6 separate regions of the Homo sapiens genome follow, and regions 2, 3, 4, 5 and 6 are each linked to region 1. Evidence: promoter capture Hi-C in human tissues and cell types (Jung and others, 2019). All regions are on one chromosome and are shown on one strand. The core of a region is centred on a gene start or on the middle of the fragment in contact, and the rest is flanking DNA. Distances in the headings are between cores, read along the strand shown. Region 1 holds the start of SHPK (sedoheptulokinase). Region 2 holds the start of CLUH (CLUH binding protein of NUMT mRNA). Region 3 has its middle 7.5 kb from the start of RAP1GAP2. Region 4 overlaps RAP1GAP2 (RAP1 GTPase activating protein 2). Region 5 overlaps RAP1GAP2 (RAP1 GTPase activating protein 2). Region 6 overlaps OR1D2 (olfactory receptor family 1 subfamily D member 2).

Region 1 (4,941 bases), core at 1,401-3,900:
GCACTTCATTAAATAGGTGTGACACACTGGGTGAGCCTGTAAGCACAGAACAGCCTGCTGAAAGCTGGGGAGGGAGGGCAGAAAAGTTTTCAAGAAGTGGCCGTGCTGCCGCCCCTACTGGGAAGTGAGGAGCCCCTCTGCCCGGCCACCACCCCGTCTGGGTAGTGTACCCAACAGCTCATTGAGAATGGGCCATGATGACAATGGCGGTTTTGTGGAATAGAAAAGGGGGAAAGGTGGGGAAAAGATTGAGAAATCGGATGGTTGCTGTGTCTGTGTAGAAAGAAGTAGACATGGGAGACTTTTCATTTTGTTCCGTACTAAGAAAAATTCTTCTGCCTTGGGATCCTGTTGATCTGTGACCTTACCCCCAACCCTGTGCTCTCTCAAACATGTGCTGTGTCCACTCAGGGTTAAATGGATTAAGGGCGGTGCAAGATGTGCTTTGTTAAACAGATGCTTGAAGGCAGCATGCCCGTTAAGAGTCATCACCACTCCCTAATCTCAAGTACCCAGGGACACAAACACTGCGGAAGGCCGCAGGGTCCTCTGCCTAGGAAAACCAGAGACCTTTGTTCACTTGTTTATCTGCTGTCCTTCCCTCCACTATTGTCCTATGACCCTGCCAAATCCCCCTCTGCGAGAAACACCCAAGAGTGATCAATTAAAAAAAAAAAAAAAGTGGCCATGCTGGGTGCGGTGGCTCACACCTGTAATCCCAGCACTTTGGGAAACCGAGGCAGGCAGATCAGTTGAGGTCAGGAGTTTGAGACCAGCCTTGCCAACATGGTGAAACCCCATCTCTACCAAAAATACAAAAAAATTCTCCAAGCATGGTGGCGCACACCTGTAATCCCAGCTACTCGGGAAACTGAGGCACGAAAATCACTTGAACCCGGGAGGCAGAGGTTTCAGTGAGCAGAGATTGCACCACTGCACTCCAGCCTGGGTGACAGAGCGAGACCCTGTCTCAAAAAAAAAAAAAAAAAAAAAAGAAGTGCTCTATTTCAGGAGAAACTGGCACTTTCTGAGCCTACTCTCCCCTAATGCCAGCTCTCCTGCTCACCCCACCAGGGTCAGAGCCAACTTTGCCTCCAATTCATAGTCCTTTAAGTAAGAATCCTTTTAATATGCCCTAATGTCCCAACCAAACTAATCTTGAAAGCTTCTATGTAGATACAAAGTGCTCCTGAAATCCCTATCCTCAGAAATGCTTCTGAGCCAAATGGGCTCTGAACCCTAAACAACCGTGTCCATGTATGTGGCAAGAGCTTGTGAAAAACAAAGCTGGGCCAGGCGCAGTGACTCACAACTGTAATCCTAGCACTTTGGGAGGCTGAAGTGGGCAGATCACTTGAGGTCAGGAGTTCAAGACCAGTCTGGCGAACATGGCGAAACCCTGTCTCTACTAAAAATACAAAAAGTAGCCGGGCGCGGTGGCTCACACCTGTAGTCCCAGCTACTCGGGAGGCTGAAGCAGGAGAATCACTTGAATCCAGTTGGCGGAGGTTGCAGTGAGCCCAGATCACGCCACTGTACTCCAGCCTGGGCAACAGAGCGAGACTTGGTAAGAAAGAGAAAGAAAGGAAAGAATGAAGGAAGGAAGGAAGGAAGGAAGGAAGGAAGGAAGGAAGGAAGGAAGGAAGGGAAGGAAGGGAAGGAGTCTCGCTCTGTCACCCAGGCTGGAGTGCAACGGAGCGATCTCGACTCACTGCAAGCTCCGCCTCCCGGGTTCGCGCCATTCTCCTGCCTCAGCCTCCCGAGTAGCTGGGACTACAGGCGCCCGCCACCACGCCCCGCTAATTTTTTGTATTTTTAGTACAGACGGGGTTTCACCGTGTTAGCCAGGATGGTCTCGATCTCCTGACCTCGTGATCCGCCCGCCTCGGCCTCCCAAAGCGCTGGGATTACAGGCGTGAGCCACCGCGCCCGGCTGACCAAAGGTTTCTTGGTCCGCATTCTGCTTCTGTGGAATGAGCCAGGAGCCAGTTAGGCCTGATTTGACATCTGATTTCCGGAGGAAAACCCAGACTCTGCCCTGGGCAACAAACTGAATCCTGAACTTGAGGTCACAGGGCAGGTGTGAGGAGCGGAGAGCAGCAAGAGTGAAAGGGAGGCCTGTGGTCATTCCATACACACAAGAGATCAGTTCCTCCAAGGTCAGGGGACAGAGAGCACAGGGATCCAGCGCCAAGCGCAAGGCCCCCAGAAGAAGCCAGAGAGTCGGGGAGGGGGCGGGGGGGAATCGGTCCCAGCAGGTGGGAAGGATTCTGGGACCAGACCTAAGGGATCATGAGCACAGCTGCTGCAGGCAGACGGGCCCCTGGAGAAGCTGGGGACAAGCTGGAATAGAGACTTCATTGCGGGAAGGGCTGTCAGGGAGGCCTCCTGGGGTGGAAAAGGGTGGTCAGGAGGCTCCTGGAGGCGGCGCGGCCCCGGGGGTCCAACTCACCTGGGGCCCGGCCACCGCGCTCTCGACCGCCGCCTCTGCCCGCGCAGCACGGGCACAGCTCGCCAGCACTGCGAACCCGGATGGGTCGTCGGGCGCGGCCCTCAGCAGAGCTGCCTTCACAGATGTGGTGCCCAGGTCAATGCCGAGGGTGATCGGCCGCGCAGCCATTATCTCCCTGACCCGCGCAGCTCCAGTCTGCAGCCAGCGGCCCCACAAGTCCGCGCTCTTCGCCCAGGGGGGCGGGGCAGGGGCGGGGAGTCGCCTGCCAATCTTTCAGCCACACCCAACATGGAGGCTTCTCGTCTTCCCACTGGCCGGGGAAGGCGAGCTTCCACGCAACCTCTCGGCGGGCCCCGGCTATAGGCGGAGAGGCGGCGGAAGGCGGGACCTAAAGGGGGCCCCGCCCCACGGGCTCTGATTTCCGCCCAATGGAGGGCGGTCTGAGCTTCGCTCACGAAAGGAGCCGGGAGGCGCTGGCGGCTCCAAGAGTCTCTGTGTCCCTGGCAGCGGACCTCATCTTCCCTCACGCCGGAGCCCCGATCTCTGCGCCCCGGCCCGACCCAGCTGCGCTCTGTCCGTCTAAGACGCGCGGAAACTACAACTCCCAGAGCTCATCTCGCCGAGATCCGGCCCCACGAGTCAGGTGGCGGAGGTCAGGTGACAGCGGACCCGCCTCTCCCAAAGTCTAGCCGGGCAGGGGAACGCGGTGCATTCCTGACCGGCACCTGGCGAGGCTCATGCGTCCCGTGAGGGCGGTTCCTCGAGCCTGGGGGCGCTCAGGTGAGAGCGGACGCGGCCTCCCCTGTTTCCCAGGCGGACCCCTTGAGGCACAGCAGGTCAGCGGGGCAGCCTGCCGGGGGTCCAGCGCCCTCAGCCGCGGCGGGCTCCTTTCCCCGCCACCAGTGCTGGCCTCGCGACACGGGACAACCCCCGGGTGGAAGGGCCCGAGCGGTGGTCAGCCGAGGCAGGGGCAGCGGGCTGCCGGGGTGGGTGCCGTTCCCAGCCCCTTACCTTCTGCTCAGTTGCCGCCTGGGTCTCGGTTGGGGAATTTGCAGATTGCTTTGGAGACGCTGAGAGAACCTTTGCGAGAGCGCCGGTTGACGTGCGGAGTGCGGGGCTCCGGGGGACTGAGCAGCACGAGACCCCATCCTCCCCTCCGGGTTTTCACACTGGGCGAAGGGAGGACTCCTGAGCTCTGCCTCTTCCAGTAACATTGAGGATTACTGTGTTTTGTGAGAGCTCGCTAGGCGCCCTAAGCAACAGAGGTAACCACTTTATATCCTTGTTTCTCAACCTCGTTATTCCTACCTACCCCCTTCCCATAAAATTTAATACCACTAGTACGCTGTGTATTTGTTTCTGTGGCCACAAACCATTGTAATAGCTAGATTTCTTCACTACCACCCCAAGCCAATTTTTTTTTTTTTTTTGAGATGGAGTCTGCAGCCTCTGTCACCCAGGCTGGAGTGCAGTGGCGCGATCTCGGCTCACTGCAACCTCCGCCTCCGGGGTTCAAGCGATTCTCCTACCTCAGCCTTCCGAGTAGCTGGGACTACAGGCCTGAGCCACCATGCCCAGCTAATTTTTGTATTTTTAGTAGAGATGGGGATTCACCATGTTGGCCAGGCTGGTCTCGAACTCCTGACCTCAGGTGATGCGCTCACCTCGGCCTCCCAAAGTGCTGGGATGACAGGCGTGAGCCACCGCGCCCAGCCTACCCCCAGCCAATTTTAGTCCCACTTGACAATGCGTGCTTTACATCTCCTCATTTAAGTCCTGTGAGGTAGTTACCACCTCCTTGTTTGGCACCACAAGGTCGCATAAGTAATAAATAGGTCAAGCCTGTCTCCAGTGCACACAGCCCTTGCCACTATTTGTGTACCCTCTCCAAAAGCAGGAGACCCAGGGAGTTCCAGGTCGTAGAACAGAGGACAGGACCAACTCATACCTGGCAGACAGGAGCTGCCACACTAGACCCCTAGCCCCAGGTTGCTCCTGGGAAGGGACTGAATGGGTGAGGAGCCTTCTTGAAACATGTGACATCTGAATGAGGCCTGGACAATAGTTAGAACTTACATAGGAAGGGCACGCCAGACAGAGCCCATTGTCAGGAGATACTTCATTTCTATCTTGTAGCTTTCACAAGCCACTAGTTGTATGTAATTATCAATCTGGTTTTTTTTTTGTTTTTTTTTTTTAATTTGAGACGGAGTTTCACTCTTATCACTCAGGCTGGAGTGCAATGGTGCAATCTCGGCTCACTGCAACCTCCACCTCCCGGGTTCAAGCGATTCTCCTGCCTCAGCCTCCTGAGTAGCTGGGACTACAGGCACATGCCACCACGCCTGGCTAATTTTTGTATTTTTAGTAGAGACGGGGATTCACCATGTTGGCCAGGCTGGTCTCGAACTCCTGACTTCAAGTGATCCAACTGCCTCGGCCTCCCAAAGTGCTGGAATTACACACACGAGCCACTGCGCTCAGCCTAA
Region 2 (4,941 bases), core at 620-3,119, 920 kb before region 1:
ATGCTCCCAGTTTCCCCAAAACAAATAGCTGTGCCCTTCCCTGACTCAGTTTACCCCCGACAGAGCCCCCCCACCCCCAGCAGAGTTAGGAAGGGGCTTCACTGACTCCCTCACAGAAATCCTCCAACAGACGCTCGTCAGCCCCCTAGTTCTCAGCACGGGATCCAAACCAACACGCCTGTCCCAGCTTCCTCTGGGCCAGGCCACGGCAGCCTTGGCTTGCTGGCCATGAGCTGGAATCCAAACACTTCCCTTAACAGCTAAATCGCTGTGTGACCTTGGGCAAGTCACTTCGACTCTTCGGGTCTCTGCTAGAGGGGAAATCAGCCAACCTCCTCTCATCCAGCCTGCCCCCACTGATTCAGAGCCACATCAGCACAAAGCCTGGTAGGTTGGGGCGATGAGCATCTGCTCTTCTGCCCAAACCTTGGCCTTGTCTAGACAATCAGCAGTACTGCCCCAGCACCTGTCCCTCACCCCAAGGCAACTCCGCTATGATGGGAACAGGGTCAGAGGGCTGAACGCTGTCCCCATCCTGATTCCCAAGTCAGCCCTGGCGCACTCACTGAAGCTAGGAAGGGAGATGATGAGGCGTTAAGACCACAAGTCCCAACTGAGGACAGTCGACGGAGGAGGGAGGGACTGGGGGACAGGAGTAGCTCTGCACCTCCACTGCCACCCAGAGCAAAGAGGGCCTGAGGAAGATGACGACTGAGGGCCTGGGAAGGGGATTCCAGCCCCAAGGCTGGAGTCTGAGACACGGTGGAGGGAACAGAAGGAAGAGAAGGGGCTCAGGAGAAAGGGAAAGCAGGCCCCACCCGAGACAAGCTGCAGCCACTGCCACAGTCACCACCATACAGCCCCCATGGGGGATCGCTGGGAGCTTGACTCCACACTAACGACCTTTGCCTTAAAAACAGCAACTCTGGTCTGACCCACTTTTCGCAATAAGGCAGGTTAATGATCAAGTTCTGGCACAAACACTTCCCCCTGCCAAGGAGTTTGGCTCTGCCCCATGCAAAGGCAGACGCCCCCTACACCAGGTCGGCCGAGCAGGCCAACACACCTGAGAGTCTCCGCCACAGCCTGAAGACCTGCGGTTATAGCCTGGCCTCAGGGCATGAACCAGGGACGCCCCTCACAACGCACACCCCGCACCTCGTGCTCTTCCCACAAACCAAGCCTGGGAAGCCTCGAGCGGAGCTTCACTCCCAGGGCTGCAGCCCTGCGCACAGGGGATGCCTGGGAGGCCGCCGCGGAGCAGGTGCCGAAGGGGGCTGTCCCGCAAACGTCGGAGCGACCCCAGCTCAGAGAGCTCCCATGCTCGGGCGCAGAGGGGGTGGGGCCGCCGATTCTTTCGGTCTGCGGCGGCGGCGCACCCCGAAACCGCGTGTGCGCGCACGTGTCCCCGCGATGAGGCGCGCGTGTGCCCGCCGAGGGTGCCAGCCGAGGCTGCCCTCCACGGGACCGCACGTGCGAAACCCGGGCCGCAGCCGGGGGCGACTGTGAAGGTGACCTTCAGCGCGGGGGCGACCCGGTGAAGGCCCCAGCGAGATACAACCGGGCCCGACGCGGAGGGAAGGCGGCGATCCCCGCGGAGTCCCGAACCCGCCCGCCCTGGTCCGGCGCCCCCCGCCCAGCGGCCCGCTGGCCCTGGCCCCGCTCACCGGCCGCGCCCGGCCGCCCCTTGCCCCCGGCCTGCGAGCCGTGTTCCCGGGCGCTGTCGGCCGGGGCGGCCGCCGGCAACTCGTCCGTCTTGATAACCATGGTGGCGGGAGCGGGCGTCCGCCTCGGCTGTCCGCGCCGCCCGCCGCGCCACTAACCCAAGTGCCCTGCGCGCCGCGGCTGCTGAGGGAAGGACGGAGTCACCGGCCCACGTGGTGCGCGCCGTGGCCTTTGACCCCGCCGCCGTTTCCCTGCCCCACCCTCGCGCCCGGCCCAGCCCACGGCGGCCCGCGAGGGACAAAACGCGCCGCGCCTGGTTCCCCGCCCACGGACGCGGTGACTTTCCAGAACGTCTTAAAGGCAACGCACTCTGACTCAAGGCCCAGGGAGGCTGGGCGCCCTCGCGGGGCGGGGCCTCGGGGAGACTCCCTGCTGCTCGCTGCCCGTCGGGCGGGCACTGTGACCTTGGGTGGAGACTGGTCTGGTTCTGCCATGGCTAATCCTCCCCTCTCCAAGGATCCCCTGTTTTCTCTTGCAGATTTGCTAAATGACCGCGCAGTCTGTCATCTGCGGTGTTCGCGTGACCCTCAGCGCCCTCCCCACCCGGCAGGCCCTTTCCCGCCGAATGGGTGCGGCTGGATTATTGAGGGAGTGGAGGGTCGCTTAGGGCACGGGCACGAGAGGCGAGGGCGAGACGTGGCTAATGGGGATCAAGAGTCAGAATGGACCCGCCAAACTTTGCCCCGAGCCAGAACGGGCTCCCTACCCGCGTCCTCGACCCATGGGTCCTCACCTCCAGGCTGGTGTCCTCATTTTACAGTGGAGGAGGCCGAGACCAAGGTCACACAGAGAGCAAGGGGTAGAGCCGGGTCTGACTCCATCCACAGCCAGGACGCTTTAACTCGTATTTTTCACTTGGCAGGGGCTTGGCGGGGACGGAACGGTGAGGTCAGAGAATGCTGCAGAGGGGACATTGGGACCAGGTCTTGCAGTGAGTTGAAGTGCTCCAGGCAGAGAGCGCCGGTGGGTCTTTCCTGGCCAGGCCGCAGGGGGCCTTTGGGAAGCACCCGAGGCCTATAACCTTCGGAGCGTTTGTCAAGCTCTAATGAGAACTGGAAAGCTTCAGCTTCCCGAGGTGGGCTGGGAGGGCCTTAGGTAGGGCCTCGCACAAATTGCGAAGGAAAGCCGACCTTGTTCTGGAGAGCACGTGGTGAGGAAAGCCAGCGACTTGATGTGAGCATTTAAACGGGAGGAAGGAAGATGAGAACTGGTAAGATTCTTCTCGGCCGGGCGGTGCAGCGGCTCACGCCTGTAATCCTAGCACTTTGGGAGGCCGAAGCCAGGCGGATGACTTGAGTTCAGGATTCGGAAGTTTGAGACCAACCTGGGCAACATTTCAAAACCCCCGTCTCTACAAAAAATATTGTTTAAAAAAAGCCAGGTGTAGTGGCACGCGCCTGTAGTCCCAGCTACTTGGGAGCTGAGCTGGGAGTATCACTCAGGACGGCTCAGATTGAGCCCAGGAGTTCCAAGCTGCAGTGAGCTATGATCGCACCACTGCACTCCTGCCTGGGTGACACAGACACCGTCTCAAAAAAAAAAAAAAAAAAAAAGCCGGGCGCGGTGGCTCACGCCTGTAATTCCAGCACTTTGGGAGGCAGAGGCGGGCGGATCACGAGGTCAGGAATTAGAGACCAGCCTGGCCAAGATGGTGAAACCCCGTCTCTACTAAAAATACAAAAATTAGCTGCGCATGGTGGTGTGCGCCTGTAGTCCCAGCTACTCGGGTGGCTGAGGCAGAAGAATCGCTTGAACCCAGGAGGTGGAGGTTGCGGTGAGCCGAGATCGCGCCATTGCACTCCAGCTTGGGCAACAAGAGAGAAACTCCGTCTCAAAAAAAGAAAAAAAAAGTGTGCATATATATATATAGTGTGTGTATATATATATAGTGTGTATATATAGTGTGTATATATATAGTGTGTGTATATATATAGTGTGTATATATATAAGTGTATATATAAAATATATATATTTATAATCAATATATATAAAAGTGTGTATATATGTGTGTATATATACACATACATACTTATGTGTGCGTGTGTATATACGTATGTGTATACACACACTCGTTCCTCTTTTGTTACACAAATGTGCAGAAAATTGTACCTGCTATTCTTCACTCTGATTTTTTTTTTACACGCTTTCAGTAGGTGTTCTCATTCCATTTACGCTGGATAATGTTGTATTGTTTGGTTGTACCATAATTCTTTTAGCCGGTCACCTGACTGATGGGTACTTAGTTTGTATTCATGAAACTCCAGGGTTTTTGAGAATTGTGCCTAGTGGCCCAGTGCAGCTGAAGTTGGAAGCCCGTGCATGTTGCTAATGCTACTCATAATAGGAAGCTCAGTTTTAACCCTGGGGGTTGGGGAAGAGCAGCAAGCCTGGGGTTAGAGAAACAGACACGTATAAAAAGCATCATCCAGCCGAGTGCGGCGGCTCACGCCTGTAATGCCAACACTTTGAGAGGCCGAGGAGAGCAGATTGTATGAGCTCAGGAGTTGGACACCAGCCTGGGCAATATGGCAAAACCTCATCTCTACAAAAAATACAAAAATTAGCTGGGTGTGGTGGTGTGCGCCTATAGTCCCTGCTACTCAGGAGGCTGAGGTAGGAGGATCACTTGAGCCCAAGAGGTTGAGGCTGCAGGATCTCGCCACTGCACTCCAGCCTGGGCGACAGAGCAAGACCCTGTCTCAAAAAAAAAAAGAAAGCAAAGAAAGAAAAGAAAAGAAAAAAAAATCATCCTCTGATCACATTCTCCATAGTCTGGTGGTCTGACCTCTGACCACACATTAAGCAGACTGATTCTTGCTTTCACACAGCTTCCACCAAAGTCTTTTCATCATAGTCTTTTTTTGGGACAGCATCTCGCTGTGTAGCTCACGTTGGAGAACAGTGGCAAGATCTCAGCTCATTGCAACCCCGCCTCCCGGGTTCAAGCGATTCTCCTGCCTCAGCCTCCCTTGTAGCTGGGACTACAGGCGCCCGCCACCATGCCCGACTAATTTTTGTATTTTTAGTAGAGAGGGGGTTTCACCATGTTGGCCAGGCTGGTCTTGAACTCCTGACCTCAGGTGACCTGCCCACCTTGGCCTCCCATAGTGCTGGGATTACAGGCGTGAGCCACCGCACCCGGCCTCCATCATAGTCTTAACAGCACATACTCCCATTTTCCCCAGCTATTTCCACCATTGCCTATAACAATGTGCT
Region 3 (4,941 bases), core at 699-3,198, 850 kb before region 1:
TTAGCAGGGGAGGGCGGGAGTGACCCAGCTGGGTGGGTGTGGGCAGAGTTGGCTGTGTGTTCTCCTTTAGTGAGAAGCTCCTTCAGACAGCCCCCACGGTCCAAGCCTTTCTTTTCTTTTTTTTTCTTCAATTTTTTTTTTTTTTAATGTTTTGCGATGGAGTCTCACTCTGTTGCCCAGGCTGGAGTGCAGTGGCGTGGTCTCGGGCTCACTGCACCCTCTGCCTCCCGGATTCAAGCGACTCTCCTGCCCCAGTCTCCTGAGTAGCTGGGATTACAGGCAGGTGCCACCATGCCCGGCTAATTTTTGTAGTGTTTAGTAGAGACGGGGTTTCACCATCTTGGCAGGGCTGGTCTCAAACTCCTGACCTCAAGTGATCCACCCACCTTGGCTTCCCAAACTGCTGGGATTACAGGCGTGAGCCATCGCTCCCAGCCTTTTTTTTTTTTTTTTTTTTTTTGAGATGGAGTCTCGCTCTGTCCCCAGGCTGGTGCGCAGGGGCGCGATCTCTGCTCACTGCAACCTCCGCTTCCCGGGTTCAAGCCATTCTCCTGCCCCAGCCTCCCAAATAGCTGGGGTTATAGGCGCATGCCACCATACCTGGCTAGTTTTGTAGTTTTTAGTAGAGACAGGGTTTTACCATGTTGGCCAGGCTGGTCTCGAACTCCTGACCTCAAGTGATCCACCCCACCATGGCCTCCAAAGTGCTGGGATTACAGGTGTGAGCCACCATGCCCAGCTTTGGTTTTTTTTTTTTTTTCTTTTTTTTTTTCGAGACAGAGTCTTGCTTTTTGGCCACACTGGAGTGCAGTGGTCTTTACTGCAGCCCCAACCTCCTGGGCTCAAGTGATCCTTCCACATCAGCCTTCTAGGTAGCTGGGAATACAGGTGCACAGCACCATGCCTGGCTAATTTAAAAAAATTTTTGTACAGATGGGGTCTTACTATGTTGCTGGGACTGGTCACAAACTCCTGGGCTCAAGCAATCCCCCTGCCTTGGCCTCCCAAAGTGCTAGGATGACAGGTGTGAGTCACCACACGCTGAGCCTGTTTTTTTGTTTTGTTTTGTTTTTTTTGAGATGGAGTCTTGCTCTGTCGCCCAGGCTGGAGTGCAGTGGCGCCATCTCAGCTCACTGCAAGCTGCCTCTCCCAGGTTCACGCAATTCTCCTGCCTCAGCCTCCCGAGTAGCTGGGAATACAGGCGCATGCCGCCACACCTGGCTAAGTTTTTGTATTTTCAGTAGAGATGGGGTTTCACCATGTTGGCCAGGATGGTTTCAATCTCCTGACCTCGTGATCTGCCCGCCTCGGCCTCCCAAAGTACTGGGATTACAGGCATGAGCCACCGCGCCCAGCCTGTGCCTGTTTTTTAAAACTTGAACTTTTAGCATATCTTCATATATTAACATATATTAAGTGCTACCTCGTTATTTTCAGTGGCTAGATAGTATTCCATTGTACGCTTATTCTGCAATGTAGTTAATCCTCAGTTGATGATCATTTAGATTATTTTTTGAATTTGCTATTATAATGATATGATTAACATCTGTATACATAGATCTTGTCAAGTGGTATGAGTTAACCTGTGCAATAAATTTCTAAAAACAAAATTGTTGGCATAAAGGGTATGTGCACTTAAACAATTTTGATAGAGTGTATTAGTCAGGGCTTTGCAGAGAAATAGAACTAATAGGAAATATATACATATGTATATAGGGGTGTGTGTGTATGTGTGTGTGTGTTTAGATTTATTATGAGGGATTGGTTCATGCAATTTTGTGGGGTTTTTTTGTTTGTTTGCTTTGAGATAGAGACTGGCTCTGTTGCCCAGGCAGGAGTGCAGTGGCACAATCTCAGCTCACTGCAACCTCTACCTCCCTGATTCAAGCAGTTCTCCTGCCTCAGCCTCCTGAGTAGCTGGGATTACAGGTGCCCGCCACCATGCCCAGATTTTTTTTTGTATTTTTAGTAGAGACGTGGGTTTCACCATGTTGATCACACTGGTCTCGAACTCCTGACCTCAAGTGATCCACCTGCCTTGGCCTCCCAAAGTGCTGGGATTACTGAGCCCCAGCCAGGCATGAGCCACTGCACCCCATCAGGTTAATGCAATTTTGGAGGCCGAGAAGTCCCATGATTTGCCGTCTATTAGCTGGGGATCCAGGAAAGCTGGTGGTATGTTCTAGTCCAAGTCCTAAGGCACAAGAACGAGGAGCGTTGATAGCTGAGGGCAGGAGAAGGCGGGTTCTCAGCTCAGGCAGAGAATGAACTCTCCTTTCCTCCACATTTTTCGTCTATTCAAGCTCTCAGTGGATTGGTTGATGCCGGCCCACATTGGTAAAGCGGCATCTTCTTTACTTAGTCTACCAATTCAAAGGCTAATCTCTTCCAGAAACAACTCACAGACATACCCAGAAATAATATTTCAACAGCTATGGAGATATCCCCTAGCCCAGTCAAATTGACACATAAATTTAACCAGCACAGAGATATTGCCCAATAGCTACACATTAATGGGACGCCCGTTTCCTTATACCTTTACACAATTATCAATTTTTTCTTTTTGAGATGGGGTCTGGGCTCTGTCACTCAGGCTGGAGTGCAGTGGCCCAATCATGGCTCTGCTTCCTGGGCTCAAGTGATCCTCCCACCTCAGCCTCCCAAGTAGCTGGGACTACAGGTGCCTGCCATCATGCCCCACTAATTTTTGTATTTTTTGTAGACATGGGGGTTCCACCATGTTGCCCACACTGGTCTCGAACTCCTGAGCTCAGGTGATCCACCCGCCTTGTCCTCCCAAAGTGCTGGGATTACAGGTGTGAGCCACCGTGGCCGGCATTATCAAATTTTTAAAACTTTATCTGATGGGTAAAAGTGATACCTTGTTATTATTTAAAATTTTTAACTGTAGTAAACTTCGTAGCTTCTTTAGTTCAGAGCCATGTGTGGCTAAAACTCTCTTGGCAGATGGACCTTACTGAACAGATAAGAATAAACTGCAATAATTTTGGGAAACTGAGGCGGGCAGATCACCTGAGGTCAGGAGTTCAAGACCAGCCTGGCCAACATGGTGAAACGACTCACAGACAGTCTCTACTAAAAAAAAAAAAAAAAAAAAAAACATTAGCCAGGCATGGTGGCGTGTACTGGTAGTCCTAGCTACTCTGGAGGCTGAGGCAGGAGAATTGCTTGAACCTGGGAGGCAGAGACTGCAGTGAGCCGAGATTGCACCAGTGCACTCCAGCTTGGGCGACAGAGTGAGACTCCATCTGAAAAAAAAAAAAAAAAAAAAAGTAAATAAATAAATTGTGCAATTGTGGTATATGTCTGGGCCCTGCTCTTGGAACTCAGTTTTTACAAGCCCTCCCTTTGCAATCTGCCATCATCTTGCTTTTCAGCACTTGTGCAATGGGAAATTTAGTCTGGACCTTGAGATAGTGCAGGTGGGCAGTGATCTGTGGACTGTAAATCACTATGCAGATGCTAGGTGCTGTTTTTATCTTGACCCTGAGGCGTGAATTCTTCACTAATGTGGGGTTGCTGGCCCTGAATGCCCACTGTGCCCTGTTTCCCTGGAGACCAGCATCTTTCTCCATCATCCTTTTTTTTTTTTGGTGGTTTTGAGATGGAGTCTCCCTCTGTCACCAGGCTGGAGTGCAGCGGCATGATCTCAGCTCACTGCAACCTCCACCTCCTGGGTTCAAGCAATTCTCCCGCCTCAGCCTCCCGAGTAGCTGGGATTACAGGCATGAGCCACTACACCCAGCTAATTTTGTATTTTTAGTAGAGACGGGGTTTCTCCATGTTGGTCAGGCTGGTCTCAAACTCCCGACCTCAGGTGATCCACCCGCCTTGGCAGGTGTAATCCCAAAGCGCTGGGATTACAGGCGTGAGCCACCGCACCCGACCTCTCTATCACCCTTTATCTTCATATGGTTTATGAAGGAAGCAGAGGCCAGTCTAAGTCTCCCCTTGGATGACTAGTAGGCTGAAGTCTCAAAAGAGTAGGTCACCTGCCCCCAGTGACTTAGAGGTGGATCTGGGATGAGAGCTGAGCTCCAGGGGGTTAGTACTGGGGCTGGAATGGGTACTACTGTCTGGATGGGGGAGGATCTGGGTCAGACCACCTAGTGCCTGCTTCACTCGGGACATCTGTTTCCTGAGCTTCCTGTAACTGCCTCATCCCCATGCCTGGGGAAGGAGCTTGTCTCATCTTTCAGCTCCCACTGGTGGCTATGAGGTCTGAGCTGCTCGAGCAGAGGAAACCACATTGTCCCTTCCTCCCGTCCTGCCCCGAGGGCCAGGGGACACAGTGGAGGGGCTGCTGCTGACAGGAGCCTGAACTGCCCCCTCCTCTGAGCCCAGCCAGCTTTCTTGGCTCTACCTGCCTCAAAAGCCCGTAGAGGCCGGGCGCTGCGAGCGCCGTGGCTCACGCCTGTAATCCCAGCACTTTGGGAGGCTGAGGTGGACGGATCTTTTGAGGTCATGAGTTCGAGACCATCCAGGCCAACATGGCAAAACCCCATCTCCACTAAAAGTACAAAAATTAGCCAGGTGTGGTGGCAGGTGCCTGTAATCCCAGCTACTCTGGAGGCAGAGGCAGGAGAATCACTTGAACCTGGGAGGCGGAGGTTGCAGTGAGCTGAGATAGTGCCACTGCACTCCAGCCTGGGTGACAGAACGAGCCCCCTTCTCTAAAAAAGAAAAAAAAATGCCCATCGAACTGGGTGAGTTCCCTGGAGCTCTGCCCTGGGGTTGGGACTCTGGCTGGGACTTTGCCCCAGGCTGGTCCCCGAGAAACACCTACAGCCCTTGTGAACTGTGACCCACAGCAGGCTCTGGGAAGCGTTTTGAGCCTGAGAGAGAAGGAGCCCGTCCAGCCAGGCATTGGGGGTAGCTGGGTACTTGCTCTTTCCATCTTCATTATTCTCTCCCCAGTGA
Region 4 (4,941 bases), core at 1,122-3,621, 630 kb before region 1:
TGAAGACCTTCTGGCAACAGCCGAGAGTGACAGACCTGAGGTCCGTCTTGTCTCTTCCAGGGCCCGGAATTCAGGGAGTTTCTGCTCACCAAGCTCACCAATGCCGAGAACGCCTGCTGCAAGTCGGACAAGTTTGCAAAGCTGGAGGTGAGAGTGTGGTTTCTGAAGGTCTCCCTCCTGACTGCTGGGCCACCTGTTAGCCAGCCTCATCCAGGGCTCCTCCATCTTTTTTTTTTTTTTTTTTTTTTTTGAGACAGAGTCTTGCTCTGTTACCCAGGCTGGAGTGCAGTGGCATGATCTTGGGACTCACCACAACCTCTGCCTCCCGGGCTCAAGTGATTCTCCTGCCTCAGCCTCCCTAGTAACTGGGATTACAGGTGTGCGCCACCACGCCCAGCTAATTTTTGTATTTTTAGTAGAGACAGGGTTTCCTCCATGTTGGCCAGGCTGATCTTGAACTCCTGACCTCAGGTGATCCGCCTGGCCCAGCCTCCCAAAGTGCCGGGATTACAGGCGTGAGCCACTGCGCCTGGCCAATCAGTCCTTTTTTTTTTTTCAAGACAGAATCTCACTCTGTCACCCAGGCTGGAGTGCAGTGGCCCGATCTTGGCTCACTGCAAGCTCTGCCTCCCGGGTTCACACCATACTCCTGCCTCAGCCTCCCGAGTAGCTGGGACTACAGGCGCCCGCCACCACGCCCAGCTAATTTTTTGTATTTTTAGTAGAGATGGGGTTTTGCCATGTTAGCCAGGATGGTCTTGATCTCCTGACCTCGTGATCCGCCTGCCTCGGCCTCCCAAAATGCTGAGATTACAGGCGTGAGCCACTGCGCCTGGCCCAATCAGTCATTTTTAAAGCACCTACTATGTGTCAGGCCCTATTCTGTTCCCTGGGATATGGGGATAAGTGAGACAGTTTCTATCCCTGGAGAGTACACAGGGTAGTCGGGGGGTGGGGCAGGGGGTCATTACTAAATAGATAGTTATAGTACAGTGTGCCAGCACTAGGCTGGGATGGAGGTCAGCACAGCTCAGATAGTGACTGTTTCTGCCTGTAGGGGACAGAGGGTGTGTTCAGGGAAGGCTTCCTGGAGGAGGTGGCTCATGCACAGCTGAATCTTGATATCAGATGAACCTTCTGCCAGGAGGAAAGAGTGGGGAAGGGAGGGCTGATCTGGCATGGTAGACAGCATGAGCAAAGGTCAGGAAGAACCAGAGCCTGACGTCAGGAGGGAGCTCCTGAGGGTTTGCTGTGGCTGAAGGACCCACGGGGGCTGGAATGGTGGAGACTCAGCCGGAGATGTTGGTTGGATCAGATCCAGAAGGGCTTTGAGCTCGGGACGGTGGGCTGCTGGTAAAGCGCTTAGGCAGGAGAGTGAGGGGCTCGATGTGTATGCCAGAGGGATTGCTCTGACAGTGGTGTCATTGAGAACGATGGTGACAAGGACAGGTTGCAGGGCAAGAGGTGCAGGAAGGCGGCCAGTTAGAAGCTATTTACAGGAATGCAGGAGAGATGACAAAGGCTTATACTGTATGGAAGGAAATGGTTTAGGGTCAAGGTTGGGAAGACTTGGTGGACTCCTGGCTGTAAGTGTTGTGGGACGTGGGATTGATTGTAGGGTGACTCTTGGGCCTTTGGCCTGGGCTCTTTGATGACATGGTGGCCAAGTTGTGCCTGCGAAGGCCGGGTTGCTGAAAGGGCCAGTCCTCATCTGTGTGAATAGCGGCCCCTGGCATCCATGTGCATGGCTCTGGACGAACATCTGGATGGAGAGGAGCAGTGGGGAGTTGGGTGCGTGGATGTGGAGCTGGGGCAGAGGGCCGGGCTGGGATTCACTCTTCCTTCTGCTCCTCTACCACCAGGGTGGAGCTGTGGCAGTGGTGGGACGACCCAGGGAGAAGGGCAGGGGGAGTAGAGCAGGAGGCCGAGCACGCAGCCTTCATCTTAGCTGCAGCATTTGTGAGCACGAAGCTCAGCTCAGCAGTAGGTCCACACCGTTGCTGGGCCGGGCTGGGCAGAATGTCAGCCTCCAGGCCAGGTGTCTGGAGCTCACAAGGAGCAGGCACATCTCTGCTCTCAGAGCCAGCTTCTCCATCCCCACCCTCTTCCCTTCTAGGACCGGACCAGGGCTGCCCTCCTGGACAACCTTCACGATGAGCTCCACGCCCACACACAGGCCATGCTGGGACTGGGCCCAGAGGAGGACAAGTTTGAGAATGGAGGCCACGGGGGGTTCCTGGAGTCTTTTAAGGTATGAGCGTCAGAGTGACTGATGGTTGCTGTGGGGTTGGGATTGGGGAAGAAAGGAAGTGGTCCAAGGTCCATGGGATACTGATCCCAGAGCCCAAGGGCCAGCTGGAGGGGTGACAGGAAACGTATGGGTATCCTAGGTGTTTGCAAAGGGCAGGGCCGTTAGGAAGTGTGTGAGGCTGGAGCAGCCAGCAGTTTTCTCAGCAGCCTCCCCATCCTTCCTCTATCTGGGTCATCTCCTCCGGGCCCAGAAGTCTGTTAAGCAGGGACAGGTAAAGAGGTAGCAGTAGGAGAGGAGCTGGAGCAAGCCAGGAACATCGGCGCTTTCACCTGCCTCCTCCTGGGTTGGGGAGCCCAGGGCAGAATGGCAGGAGCGAGGACCACAGCCCTTACGGGTCTTCGTAGCTGCTGTGGGTGCCACAGTGATTCTTCCTAGCCAGCCGGCCGAGCATTGGAAGACCTGGCTGGGCAGGGGCCATGGAACTATAGGCAAGTCCCTTTGGACTTTGCCAAGGGAAAAAAACTAACTAGAAGGAGCTGCTAAAGGAAGCAGTGAGCTCCCTGTCCCTGGAAGTATTCAAGTGGAGCTCGGACGGCCCCCGAGCTGGCGTGTGGTAGAGGTTTTTCATCTTATGCTTGCTGAGTGCTTGTTGGTCCACGCAGCACGTAGACCCAGCATCTGGCTCGAGCCTGGCTGTCAGCCTGTGCAGGTGGCGGAACGGGTCTTGTTATATTCACGAACACACGTGGGGACAGGATGAGAGACGCCACAGGCCTGCTCAGGTCCTTACACCGAGGCAGAGTTAGAGCCTCATTTCAAACGCAGGTCTTCTGATTCTTAGGTCCGTGTGCTGCTGGATTGCCTGTTAGAAGGTGATTTGGAAACTCCCATCTGGGGGCATTATGTGTGGGACTTTATGGGGAATTATGTGTAGGGCTACACCCACCTCTATTAAAACCGCAGCTCTGTGGGATCCTGGGCAGTCTTTCAAGCCTCTTAAGGTGCAGCTTTCTTGTCAACAACATAAGGATAGGAAGCAGGACCCCTGTCAGAGCCATTGTGCGAGTTCATTGATACCATGCCTGGAAAAGTCCAGATTGCCTGGAATATAGTAAATGCTCAAAAATGTCAGCTGTTATTACAGTTGTATAAAGTGAAAGCTTCACACACATTATCCCACCTGGAGATTCACAACTGCCCTCAGTGCCCTGTGAGGAAGGCTATTATTTGGGGTGTAATAATTTTGGTATAATAGTTCATACTCAGTTTTAATAATGATAGGCATAGTATTATATGGGAGGAAACCAAGCCTCAAAGAGACAGAATCATTTGTGGGAGCAGGTGGAGTTGAATCCAGGTCCGCCGGATTCCAAATCCGACACCACCTCCCACTTCCTGACTTTGTTAAGATTCCACCCGCACTAGCCTGGGCCCGGGCAGGCCTGGGGTCAGTCCCCCACTGCCCGGCTGGACCGCAGAGAGCAGGGCACAGCTCTTCCTACCCTAGTTGGGGCCAGCTGCCAAGATGCCTCTTGGGGTTGGGAAAAGGAGCTGAGCTGCTTGTCCAGGCTGGTGGGTGATTCCTGGGGCACCTGTTTCAGTGCTGATGGACAGTGGGAGCCCGGGTGAAATAGGAGAAATTGGGAGATCAAGACGGAAGAGGGATGCAGAAGAAGAGGAACGGGAGGAGAGAGGGCGCCAGGTCAGACAACCCAGCGAGAGAATGGAGAGTGTGAGATGCGGTAAACAGGAAAACGGGCTTGGGTCTGGGGAAGGCAGGAAGGGGGGCACCACATTAAGCCTTCCACAGGCTCTAGACTTCCTTCCAGAGGCTCCACCACACTCCATAGCCCACGTATCAAAACATTCTGCATCCCTCAGTAAATGTAATTTATGCAGAACTATAAGAGGTGAGGCCAGGTGCCGTGCCTCACGCCTGTAATCCCAGCACTTTGGGAGGCCGAGGCAGGCGGATCACGAGGTCAGGAGATCGAGACCATCCTGGCCAACATGGTGAAACCTCGTCTCCACTAAAAATACAAAAATTAGCCGGGCGTGGTGACGTGAGCCTGTAATCCCAGCTACTCAGGAGGCTGAGGCAGGAGAATCACGTGAACCCGGGAGGCGGAGGTTGCAGTGAGCCGAGATCACGCCACTGCACTCCAGCCTGGAGACAGGGCGAGACTGTCTCAAAAAAAAAAAAAAAAAAAAAAAAGAAAAGTTGAGCTGCAGTTGGGGAGCCAACATAATGTTGTATTTTGTAGACATTTAATGAAGCACTTGTTTTGAGTTTTGCAGGTTTCTTGTAGTATTTTGGAGTTAATTGGTTTTTCAGGTTTCAAGTATTTCTATATCCTGGAGATGCTTGTAGGCTGTGGACACTCTGCCCATGGTGCCCAATGGAGGAGGTGGTCCAGCAGCTAAATACAGGTGGCAGGTATAAAGAGAGTGGCCTGAGGCCGCTCTGTCCAGTCCCCCGCCTCTGGCAGGAGTCGCAGTTGATCTGTGCTTGACTCGAGGGGGTCTGACGTATTCCTAGAGGGGCTTACAAGAGAGGAAACACTTTAAGACTTTATCACGACTCATCTTTGATCCAGTGATCCAGGGAATTCTTTTCAATACTAAAACCCTGCAACTGTAGGTTGAAGACAGGCCTGCTTCCAGATTCTGCTCTCACACCTACCTGAGGT
Region 5 (4,941 bases), core at 958-3,457, 610 kb before region 1:
TTCCCTCAGTGACAGCACATCCAGCACACCCAAGACCCCAGATGGTGGACACTCCTCTCAGGAGATAAAGTCTGAGACCTCATCCAATCCCAGCTCTCCGGAAATCTGCCCCAACAAGGAGAAGTAAGAGAGTGAGGGTGGGAAAGGCCAGCTTCGGCCACGTGGAGCCCTGGAACACGCCCTCTGCCTCCTGGCCAGCTGAGAGTGGCCATCTCCTGCCTCTGGAACTCTCCAGAACACAAAGGCCGACGGGTGGGGGCGTGGGGAGCCGCCAGAGGTCCCGGGGAGGACCCTGGGGGTGGAGGGCTCTCGCGTGTGACCCGGGCTGGCCTCACTTCCTATTCCCTGCAGGCCCTTCATGAAGTTGAAGGAAAACGGCCGTGCCATCTCCCGCTCCTCCTCCAGCACCAGCAGCGTCAGCAGCACTGCAGGGGAGGGCGAGGCCATGGAGGAGGGCGACAGTGGGGTAGGTGTGCCCCGTCCACCCTTGGGCAGGCACTCTGGGGCGTCAGCCAGCCACCCTCCTTGCATTAAAACGGCACTGTGGATCGAAGCCCATGTCAGTCTTTGCAGAGGAAAGGGGAAGAATGGAAACGAGAGGTGGGCTCGTTGGCCATCACCACCCCCTGGGCGCAGTGGGTGAGGGGACCTCTCTCTCAGAGTGACATAGCAGCAGCAGAGGGCAGGGGCCAGACCCGATGGTGCCCTGCCTTGGGGTTCCTGGCTGGAGTGGTGAGTGGCCAGTGCCCCAGGGGGCTGGGTCAAAGGTCCTTCTTGGAGCAGGATAGCTTGGAACCAGGGTTGAAGTCAGCAGGAAAGAAAGAGCAGGCCCAAGTGGGGAGCAGGAGGCAGCGGCTGTCCTGGGCTTTTGGGGGCTGCCTCAGGCCTGCGTGGGCGCAGCTGCCGAGGGTGGGCTGGCCTCGCTCACCCTGCCTCTCTCCTCAGGGCAGCCAGCCGTCCACGACCTCACCCTTCAAGCAGGAGGTGTTTGTCTACAGCCCGTCCCCGAGCAGCGAGAGCCCCAGCCTGGGGGCAGCTGCCACCCCGATCATCATGAGCCGGAGTCCCACAGGTCAGTGGCATCTGGTGGTGTGTGTGACGTCACCAGGAGGGCAGGCTGTGCCCTGTCCACTGTTAGCAGGGCCCCAGCCACGCTGAACTGGCCAGTTTTCACCCCTCCTCCCAGCTGTGAGGCCCTCCGCTCTGTGCGCCCGCCTCTTCTGTTCATCAGCCTTAAGATGCCCAAGTTCCTAAGCTCTTCTTACACTGAGAGTTGTGAAGCTGAGGCAGAGAGTTGAAGGCCTTGTGGGAGATCCCACAGCGGAGGAGTCGGGATTGGCAGTGGGAAAGCTGAGCACTTTCCATTAGCCCTTCTCCCCACCTGCCAGTGCTCCAACCCTTCTCCCCACCTGCCAGCGCTCCAGGGCTGCCAGGGCCCGTCTGTCATGTCGGGGGTCTTGATAATACAAGACGGGGGAAGGGCTGCAGGGGGAGGGAACAGCATGTGGAAAGGCCCAGAGGAGAGGAGAGAGCGGGTATTCCGGAACTGCACGTGTTCATGGCAGCTGGGTTCACAGAGCCAGGCGTCAGAGAGGCCGGAGCGTTGACAGGCTGGGTCAGCCCCGGGCCCCGGGTGAGGATTTTGTTCTGCTAGCGGCCACTGTTGGAGTGTTTGAAGGTTCTTAAGTAGGGAAGCACCATCTGGAGTTGAGAAAGTCCATTTTGGCTGCTGCAGCTGCTGAGTGTAGAATGGATTAGTAGAGAGCAGGAGCAGAGGGGAGGGATGGAGGGGAGGGGAGAGGAGGGGAGGGGAGCTGCGGCAGAAGCACCTCGGTTCAGGAGAGATCAAGGAGGTAAAATGTACGGGCTCAGTAGCAGGGGTTCAGAGAGAGCAGGAGTCTGGGCGTTTTGGGGTTCTGTGATCCCTGCAGTTGGTCAGAATAGGGGGGCCAGCACCTGAGGGCCGTTCAGGTAGACCTGTGCGGTGGGCACTGCTGGGCGGGTGCTCCGGGTCTCTGCCCTCGTGAGGGCAGCACAGGACTTTGAGCCTGGGTCCAAATCCTGGGTCTGCTGCTTACTAGACATGTCATTGGGCGAGTCACCAAGCCTGTCTGTGCCTCAGTTTCTCCAAGCAGAAAATGAAGGGAGGGGAAGAGTCGTGTCTGCCTCAGAGGGTTGGTTGTATGAAGATGAAAGGAGCTCATGCTTGTACGAGGCCTGGAACTGTTAACCTCGGTGTTGGTTAAAGAATGGGAATGAGACAATAGTGTAGTCAGCGGTTCTGAGCCGGGGGCAGTCTTGCTACCCCATGGATGTCTGGCAATGTCTGGCGACATTTTTAATTTTCACAATTTTGGAGGGGTGCTACTGGCATCTAGTGGGCAGAGGTCACGGAAGCTGATAAGCAATGTACAGGACAGCCCCCTAGCCACATCAGACAAATAATTCTCTGACCCCAAATGACATTCGGTTGAAAAACTCTAGTCTCAATGGTAGAAACACAGGAAGGGCCAACAGGCCTTCAGGGTGGCTGAAGCCAAAATGTTCCTGGGGTTCACACAGCGAAGGGATGTTGCAAAGGGAACCTGCAGGGTCAGAGATGAAGGGAAGATCGTGATTCCACAGCCAGTGACCCTTTGCATGCGTGTTTCTCAGTGAGTGGAAGAGTTCACGTGCCTCCTCTCATTCAGCCCCCTGTGGTTGGGCAGCTGCGGAGCTGGGTTCAAATCCTGGTTGTAGCATTGACAGGTCCACGTCTCTGAGCCTCAGTTTCCTCATCTGTAAAAGGGGGTGGAAATACAAATTCCCTGATTTTTTTTCGAGATGGAGTCTCACTCTGCCACCCAGGCTGGAGTGCAATGGCGCAATCTCGGCTCACTGCAACCTCCGCCTCCCAGGTTCAAGTGATTCACCTGCCTCAGCCTTCCAAGTAGCTGGGATTACAGGCATGTGCCACATGCCCGGCTAATTTTTTTATTTTTAGTAGAGACACAGTTTCACCATGTTGGCCAGGCTGGTCTCGAACTCCTGACCTCGTGATCCACCCACCTCGGCCTCCCAAAGTGCTGGGATTACAGGCGTGAGCCACCGCGCCTGACCTGGTGTTTTTGTTTTGTTTTGTTTTGTTTTCTAAATAAGACTTAAATATTGAAGGAATGAATGAAAGAATCTGTAAGCAAGCCTGGCCCCCACTTGGTGTTAAATAAACGTCAAAGTAAGGAAGGTTTTGAGTAAAGGAATTAGAGAGTCTCTGCAGGTTGCTGAAGGTCACCGAGGGCGGAAGGGACCTGGAGCGGGTCTGGTGACTTATGGCCGGTGCTTCCCACACCACACGGTGAGGCTGCCTCTTACACACCTTTTCTCCACACAGTATTTAACCCCGATGGGCTGCTTTTCACCCCCAGCCCACGAAAGATGTGCTTGGTACCCACTGGATCAGGGTGGGCTTGGGGGGATCTGGGAACCGGTTTCATGCTGTTTGGCTGAGTCTGGGGAGAGGCAGGGTGGAGTGGGGAGAGGTGGCCTGACGTCCTGACGTACAGTCTCCATAATGTCAGATATCTGATCATGGTCATTTCCTACCTGGGCTTCCTGGGGCACAGAAGAGGACTGATAGGTTACACAGAGGTGTTGTAGCCCTGGGTGGAACTCCTCGATTCGAAGCACCACGAACCAGCCAGCAGCTTCCAGGAAGGCTGCACTAAGCTTTCCATACCCTCGGCCAGAGGACAGCCAGAAAGTCAAGTGGCCCTCCTGCCAGCGGGGCACAGCGGGAAATGTTGACACCGGGCTCTGCCACCACTCACACACACTTAACGGAATTTTATTATACGATGGATGTCAAACCCAGTGTACAAATACTAGATAATATTCTTTACCATAAGTCCCATATGTCCAACTGATTCTCACAGAATGCTTTTAGTGGTGTTTGCTTCACCTTTTTATCTGTAGCCAACTTAAGGCTGCAGGAGATGAATGTGTGTAATTCTGACATGAATGTGGACTGATATTACCATGTTTGTTAATAAGTATTTTATATGTATATATTATATATACATATATAGTATATACATATAATATACATATGTTATAGATACACATAATATACATATATGTATATATTATATATACATATATATTATATGTTATATGTATATACATATGTATAATATATATTATACACACACACACACACACACTCACTCTCATGGCGCCCGGCCATGAGTATTTTGTATTAAGAGAACTTCATTCGTCAGTGACATGAGTCATTTCCTTGCTGTATCCGAGAAAAGTTTTCAAACCCCGGAAGGATATTTCCTCAGTTTTCTTTTGTGCTATTCACAATGTAATCGCTGCAGACACAGCATGTTTTGAAGTTTCATGTAAATTCCTTTTTTTCTATTAGTTCCTTAAGTCTAGACAACAAAACAATCAATCAAGTCATGATTTGTAGCATGTACCAGTTTCTGTGGTGTAAATACACTTGTCGTGGCTGATCTCAAGCTACTGACGTGATGTCCTCGAACGTGGACTTGGGAAGAAGATATACTGTAGCCACCATCTTTAGGGTGTTTCTACCACATGGATACAATAGACGTAAGAGCACAGATAATCGTAAAACAGAGAAAAATAAGTAGGAAGTGACGAATTTCAAGTATTTATTACCTCTGTTGAATATAATTTATTGAACTGTAAGCTTATATATAATTCAACTTTAAAAAATGGCCTGAGTTGAACAACCAGCTCACCACAATTCTATAATCTAGGAGTTGGCTCTCGTGGGTCGGCACAGGTCAGCTAGGGTGCCTGGTCCTGGTGGAGGGCAGGAGGCCCCCTTCCCCTGGCCTCCCTAGCCAGTCCCCACACACAGCCCCAGTGGCCTCCACAGCTCCACCCTCCTTTCATGGCCGTTCTTTTTCTTAGATGCCAAAAGCAGAAACT
Region 6 (4,941 bases), core at 1,520-4,019, 550 kb before region 1:
TGCAGAAGCTTTTAGTTTAAGTCACATCTGTTTATCCTTGTTTTTGTTGCATTTGGTTTTGGGTTGTTGGTCATGAAGTCTTTGCCTAAGCCAATGTCTAGAAGGCTTTTTCCAATGTTGTCTTCTAGATTTTTTACGGTTTCAGGTCTTGTATTTAAGTCCTTGATCCTTCTTGAGTTGATTTTGGTAAGAGATGAGAGATGAGGATCCAGTTTCATTCTCCTGTATGTGGCTAGCCAATTATCCCAGCATCATTTGTTGAATAGGGCTTCCTTTTTCCACTTTATGCTTTTGTTTGCTTTGTCAAAGACCAGTTGGCTCTAAGTATTTGGGCATATTTCTGGGTTCTCTATTCTGTTCCCTTGGTCTATGTGCCTATTTTCTTACCAGTACCATACTGTTTTGGGGACTATGGCCTTCTAGTATAGATTGAAGTCGGGTAATGTAATGCCTCCAGATTTGTTCTTTTTGCTTAGTCTTGCTTTGGCTATGTGGGCTGTTTTTTGGTTCTATACAAATTTTAGGATAGTTTTTTCTAGTTGTGTGAAAAATAATGGTGGTATTTTGATGGGAATTGCATTGAATTTGTAGATTACTTTTGGCAGTATGGTCATTTTCACAGTATTGATTCTATCCATCTGTGAGCATGGGATGTGTTTCCATTTGTGCCTTCTATGATTTCTTTCAACAGTGTTTTGGAGTTTTCCTTGTAGAGGTCTTTCACTTCCTGGATTAGGTGTACTCCTAAGTATTTTAATTTTTTCTAGGTATTGTAAAAGGAGTTGAGTTCTTGATTTCTCAGCTTGGTCACTACTGATGTATAGTAGTGCTACTCATTTGTGTATATTAATTTTATATCCTGAAACTTTACTGAATTCATTTATCAGTTATAGAAACTTTTTGGATGAGTCTGCAGGGTTTCCTATGTATATGATTTTATCATTGGTGAACAGCGACAGTCTGACTTCCTCTTTACTGATTTGGATGACCTTTACTTCTTTCTCTTGTCTGACTGCTCTAAGACTTCCAGTACGATGTAGAATAGAAATGGTGACAGTGAGCATCCTTGTCTTGTTCCACTTCTCAAGGGGAAATGCTTTCAGCTTTTCTCTGTTCAGTATAATATTGGCTATGGGTTTGTCATGGGTGGCTTTTATTACCTTAAGTTATGTCCCTTCTATGCCAATTTTGCTGAGGGTTTTAATCGTAACGGGATGTTGGATGTTTTGTCAAATGCTTTTTCTGCATCTATTGAGATGATCATGTGCTTTTTATTTGAAATTCTGCTTATGTAGTACATCACATTTATTAACTTGTGTATGTTAAGCCATCCCTGCATCCTTGGTATAAAAGCTCCTTGATCATGGTGGATTATCTTTTTGACAAGCCATTAGATTGTTAGCTAGTATTTTGTTGAGGATTTTTGCACCTATGTTTATCAGAGATATTAGTCTGTAGTTTTCTTTTTTTGTGATGTCCTTTCCTTGTTTTGGTATTAGAGTGATACTGGCTTCATAGAATGATTTAGGGAGAATTCCCTCTTTCTCTATCCTGTGTAATAGTGTCAATAGGATTGGTACCAATTCAACTGTGAATCTGTCTGGTCCTGGACTTTATTTTGTTGTCATTTTTTTCATTATCATTTCAATATCGCTGCTTATTGGTCTGTTCAGAGTTTCTATATCTTCCTAGTTTAATCTAGGGGGGTTGTACATTTTCAGGAATTTATCCATCTCCTGTAGGTTTTTCAGCTTGTGTGCATGAAGGTATTCATAGTAGCCTTGAATAATGTTTTGTATTTCTGTGGTATCAGTTGTAATATCTCCCACGTTTTTCTAATTGAGCTTATTTGAATTTTCTCTTATTTTCTTTGTTAATCTTGCCAATGGTCTATCAGTTTTTTTTTACCTTGTCAAAGAACCAGCTTCTTGTTTCATTTATGATTTTTATTTTTATTTTTCAATTTCCTTCAGTTCTCCTCTGATCTTTGTTATTTCTCTTTGTCTGCTGGGTTTGGGTTTGGTTTGTTCTTGTTTCTCTAGTTCCGTGAGGTGTGACCTTAGGTTGTCTATTTGTGCTCTTTTAGAATTCTTAATGTAATAATACTGTGAACTTTTCTCTTAGTACTACTTTTGCTGTATTCCAGAGATTTTGATAGGTTGTGTCCCTATTATCATTCATTTCAAAGAATTTTTAAGTTTTCCTGTTGATTTTGTTGTTGACCCAACAATCATTCAGGAGCAGGTTATTTAATTTCCATGTATTTGGATGGTTTTGTGGGTTCCTTTAGGAGTTGATTTCCAATTTTATTCCAGTGTGGTCTGAGAGAGTACTTGATATAATTTCAATTTTCTTAAATTGATTGAGACTTGTTTTGTGGCCCATGATATGGTCTATCTTTGAGAATGTTTCGTGTGCTGATAAGTAGAATGCATATTCTGCAATTGTTGGGTAGAATGTTCTATAAATATCTGTTAAGTTCATTTGTTCTAGGATATAGTTTAAGTCCATTGTTTCTTTGTTGACTTTCTGTCTTGATGATATGTCTAGTGCTAACAGTGGAGTATGGAATCCCCCACTATTATTGTGCTGTTGTCTATCTCATTTCTTAGGTCTAGTAGTAAATGTTTTATAAATTTGGCAGCTCCAGTGTTAGGTGCATATATATTTAGGATTGTGATGTTTTCCTTTTGTACTAGTCCTGTTATCATTATGTAGTGTCCGTCTTTGTCTTTTTTAACTGTTGTGGGTTTAATGTCTGTTTCGTCTAAGAATAGCTACTCCTGCTTGCTTTGGTGACCATTTGTATGGAATATCTTTTTCTACCTCTTTGCCTTAAGTTTATGTGAGTCCTTATGTGTTAGCTGAGTCTCTTGGGGATGGCAGGTACTAGGTTGGTGAATTCTTATCCATTCTACCATTCTGTATCTTTTAAGTGGAGTGTTTAGGCCATTTACATTCAACATTACTATTGAGATATGAGCTACTATTCTATTTGTCATGCTAATTGATGGCCTGAAGAGCTTGTTTTATTTTTCCATTTTGTTATTGTTTTATAGGTCCTGTGAGATTCATGCCTGAAGGAGGTTCTATTTTGGTGTATGTCAAGGGTTTGATTCAAGATTTAGAGCTCCTTTTACAAGTTCTTGTAGTGCTGGCTTGGTAGTGCCGAATTCTCTCAGCATTTGTTTGTCTGAAAAAGACTATCTCTCCTTCATTTATGAAGCTTAGTTTCATGGGATACAAAATTCTTGGCTGGTAATTGTTTTGTTTAAGGAGGCTAAAGATAGGACCCTAATCCCTTCTAGCTTGTAGGGTTTCTGCTGAGAAATCTGCCATTAACCTGATAGGTTTTTCTTTATACGTTACCTGATGCTTTTGCCTCACAGCTCTTAAGATTCTTCCCTTCATCTTGACTTTGGATAACCTGATGTCTATGTGCCTAGGTGATGATCTTTTTGTGATGAATTTCCCAGTTGTTCTTTCAGCTTCTTGCATTTGGATGTCTAAATGTCTCACAAGGCCAGGGAAGCTTTCCTCAATTATTCCCTCAAATATGTTTTCAAAACTTTCAGATTCCTCTTCTTCCTTGGGAACACCAGTCATTCTTAGGTTTGGCCATTTTACATAATCACAATCTTCTTGGAGGCTTTGTTCATTTTTTAAAATTCTGTTTTCTTTGTCTTTGATGGGTTGGGCTTTTGAAAGCCTTGTCTTTGAACTCTGAAGTTCTTTCTGCTACTTGTTTGTTTCTATTGCTGGGACTTTCCAGTGCATTTTACATCTCTCTAAATATGTCTTTCATTTCCAGAAGTTGTGATTGTTTTTTATTTATGCTATCTATTTCACTGAAGATTTTTGCTTTCATATCCTTCATATCCTGTATCTTTTTTAGCAGGAAGAGCTGCAGACCAAACTCCTCAGACACCAAGTTAAAGAAGGAAGGGGTTTATTTGGCCAGGAGCATCGGCAAGACTCCTGTCTCAAGAGCTGAGCTCCCCCAGTGAGCAATTCCTGTCCCTTTTAAGGGCTCACAACTCTAAGGGGGTCTGCGTGAGAGAGTCATGATCAATTGAGCAAGCAGGGGGTACGTGACTGGGGGCTGCATGCACCAGTAATCAGAACAAAACAGAACAGGACAGGGATTTTTACAATGCTTTTCCATACAATGTCTGTAATCTATAGATAACATAACCAGTTAGGTCAGGGGTCGATCTTTAACTACCAGGCCCAGGGCGTGGTGACAGGCTGTCTGCCTTTAGATTTCATTTCTGCCTTTTAGTTTTTACTTCTTTCTTTGGAGGCAGAAATTGGGCATAAGACAATATGAGGGGTGGTCTCCACCCTTACTTTTTTTTTTTTTAATTTAAGTTGAACTTCACCTTTCTCGGGCACCTCCTTGATTAGCTTAATACTCAACTTTCTGAATTCTTTTTCTGGCAATTCAGAGATTTCTTCTTGGTTTGGATCCATTGCTGGTGAGCTAGTGTGATCTTTCAAGGGTGTTAAAGAACCTTGTTTTGTCATATTACCAGATTTGTTTTTCTGGTTCCTTCTCATTTGGGTAGACTATGTCAGAAGGAAGATCTGGGGCTCAAGGGCTACTTATCAGATTGTTTTTGTCCATGGGATCCCCCCTTGATATGGGGCTCTACCCCATCTCCTGGGGATGGGGCTTCCTGAGAGCCAAACTGCAATGATTGTTATTTCTCTGCTGGTCTAGCCATCCAACAGAGCTTCTGGGCTCTGAGCTGGTACTGGGGGGTGTCTGTGAAGAGTCCTGTGATGTGATCTGTCTTCAGTCCCTCAGGCATGGATACCAGTGCCTGGTCCAGTGGAGGTAGCAGTGGAGTAAAGTGAACTCTCATGGTCCAAGTGTTTATCTAGGAGTCTATGGTCCTTGGTTGAAGTTTTGTTTAGTGTACTAGTTGGCCTCCAGCC

Evidence for each region. The method cuts DNA at HindIII sites, captures the fragments that hold promoters and counts their contacts. A contact is called where the count stands out against the background at its distance.
Region 2: the fragment with the promoter of CLUH here is called in contact with the fragment with the promoter of SHPK in region 1 in 1 of the 25 tissues and cell types used here (dorsolateral prefrontal cortex).
Region 3: a fragment that was not itself captured here is called in contact with the fragment with the promoter of SHPK in region 1 in 1 of the 25 tissues and cell types used here (spleen).
Region 4: a contact is called between a fragment that was not itself captured here and the fragment with the promoter of SHPK in region 1, in 2 of the 25 tissues and cell types used here (dorsolateral prefrontal cortex and heart right ventricle).
Region 5: a fragment that was not itself captured here is called in contact with the fragment with the promoter of SHPK in region 1 in 1 of the 25 tissues and cell types used here (dorsolateral prefrontal cortex).
Region 6: a fragment that was not itself captured here is called in contact with the fragment with the promoter of SHPK in region 1 in 7 of the 25 tissues and cell types used here (H1 embryonic stem cells, IMR-90 fibroblasts, bladder and 4 more).

The regions. Positions count from the first base shown.
Region 1 is chr17:3,633,600-3,638,540 of GRCh38, forward strand. It overlaps SHPK (sedoheptulokinase), which reads right to left and starts at 2,651. Exons shown (of 7, transcript NM_013276.4): 1 at 2,453-2,651. The coding sequence starts at 2,620. It overlaps CTNS (cystinosin, lysosomal cystine transporter), which reads left to right and starts at 3,161. Exons shown (of 12, transcript NM_004937.3): 1 at 3,161-3,232; 2 at 3,508-3,717. LOC105371493 (a long non-coding RNA gene) reads right to left here. Exons shown (of 6, transcript XR_007065579.1): 6 at 4,898-4,941. RefSeq lists enhancers at 203-1,068, 2,907-3,156 and silencers at 2,367-2,426, 3,437-3,526. The HindIII fragment of the contact is 13,000 bases long and covers 232-4,941 here.
Region 2 is chr17:2,709,895-2,714,835 of GRCh38, forward strand. CLUH (CLUH binding protein of NUMT mRNA) reads right to left here and starts at 1,870. Exons shown (of 26, transcript NM_001366661.1): 1 at 1,668-1,870. The coding sequence starts at 1,767. It overlaps LOC105371592 (a long non-coding RNA gene), which reads left to right and starts at 2,415. Exons shown (of 2, transcript NR_136412.1): 1 at 2,415-2,505; 2 at 2,588-2,939. RefSeq lists enhancers at 429-508, 1,343-2,239, 2,240-3,135 and silencers at 1,749-1,868, 1,999-2,178. The HindIII fragment of the contact is 23,363 bases long and covers 1-4,941 here.
Region 3 is chr17:2,786,510-2,791,450 of GRCh38, forward strand. It overlaps a transcript of RAP1GAP2 not described here. Among named protein-coding and RNA genes, the nearest start is that of RAP1GAP2, 7.5 kb to the right of the region's middle. The HindIII fragment of the contact is 6,818 bases long and covers 1-4,941 here.
Region 4 is chr17:3,005,895-3,010,835 of GRCh38, forward strand. RAP1GAP2 (RAP1 GTPase activating protein 2) reads left to right here. Exons shown (of 25, transcript NM_015085.5): 16 at 61-147; 17 at 2,117-2,251. Among named protein-coding and RNA genes, the nearest start is that of RAP1GAP2-AS1, 42 kb to the left of the region's middle. RefSeq lists an enhancer at 4,885-4,941. The HindIII fragment of the contact is 3,655 bases long and covers 545-4,199 here.
Region 5 is chr17:3,025,999-3,030,939 of GRCh38, forward strand. RAP1GAP2 (RAP1 GTPase activating protein 2) reads left to right here. Exons shown (of 25, transcript NM_015085.5): 20 at 10-123; 21 at 352-466; 22 at 946-1,072; 23 at 4,924-4,941. Among named protein-coding and RNA genes, the nearest start is that of OR1D5, 35 kb to the right of the region's middle. The HindIII fragment of the contact is 3,985 bases long and covers 216-4,200 here.
Region 6 is chr17:3,084,540-3,089,480 of GRCh38, forward strand. OR1D2 (olfactory receptor family 1 subfamily D member 2) reads right to left here. Exons shown (of 2, transcript NM_002548.3): 2 at 3,945-4,941. Among named protein-coding and RNA genes, the nearest start is that of OR1D2, 17 kb to the right of the region's middle. The HindIII fragment of the contact is 7,207 bases long and covers 1-4,941 here.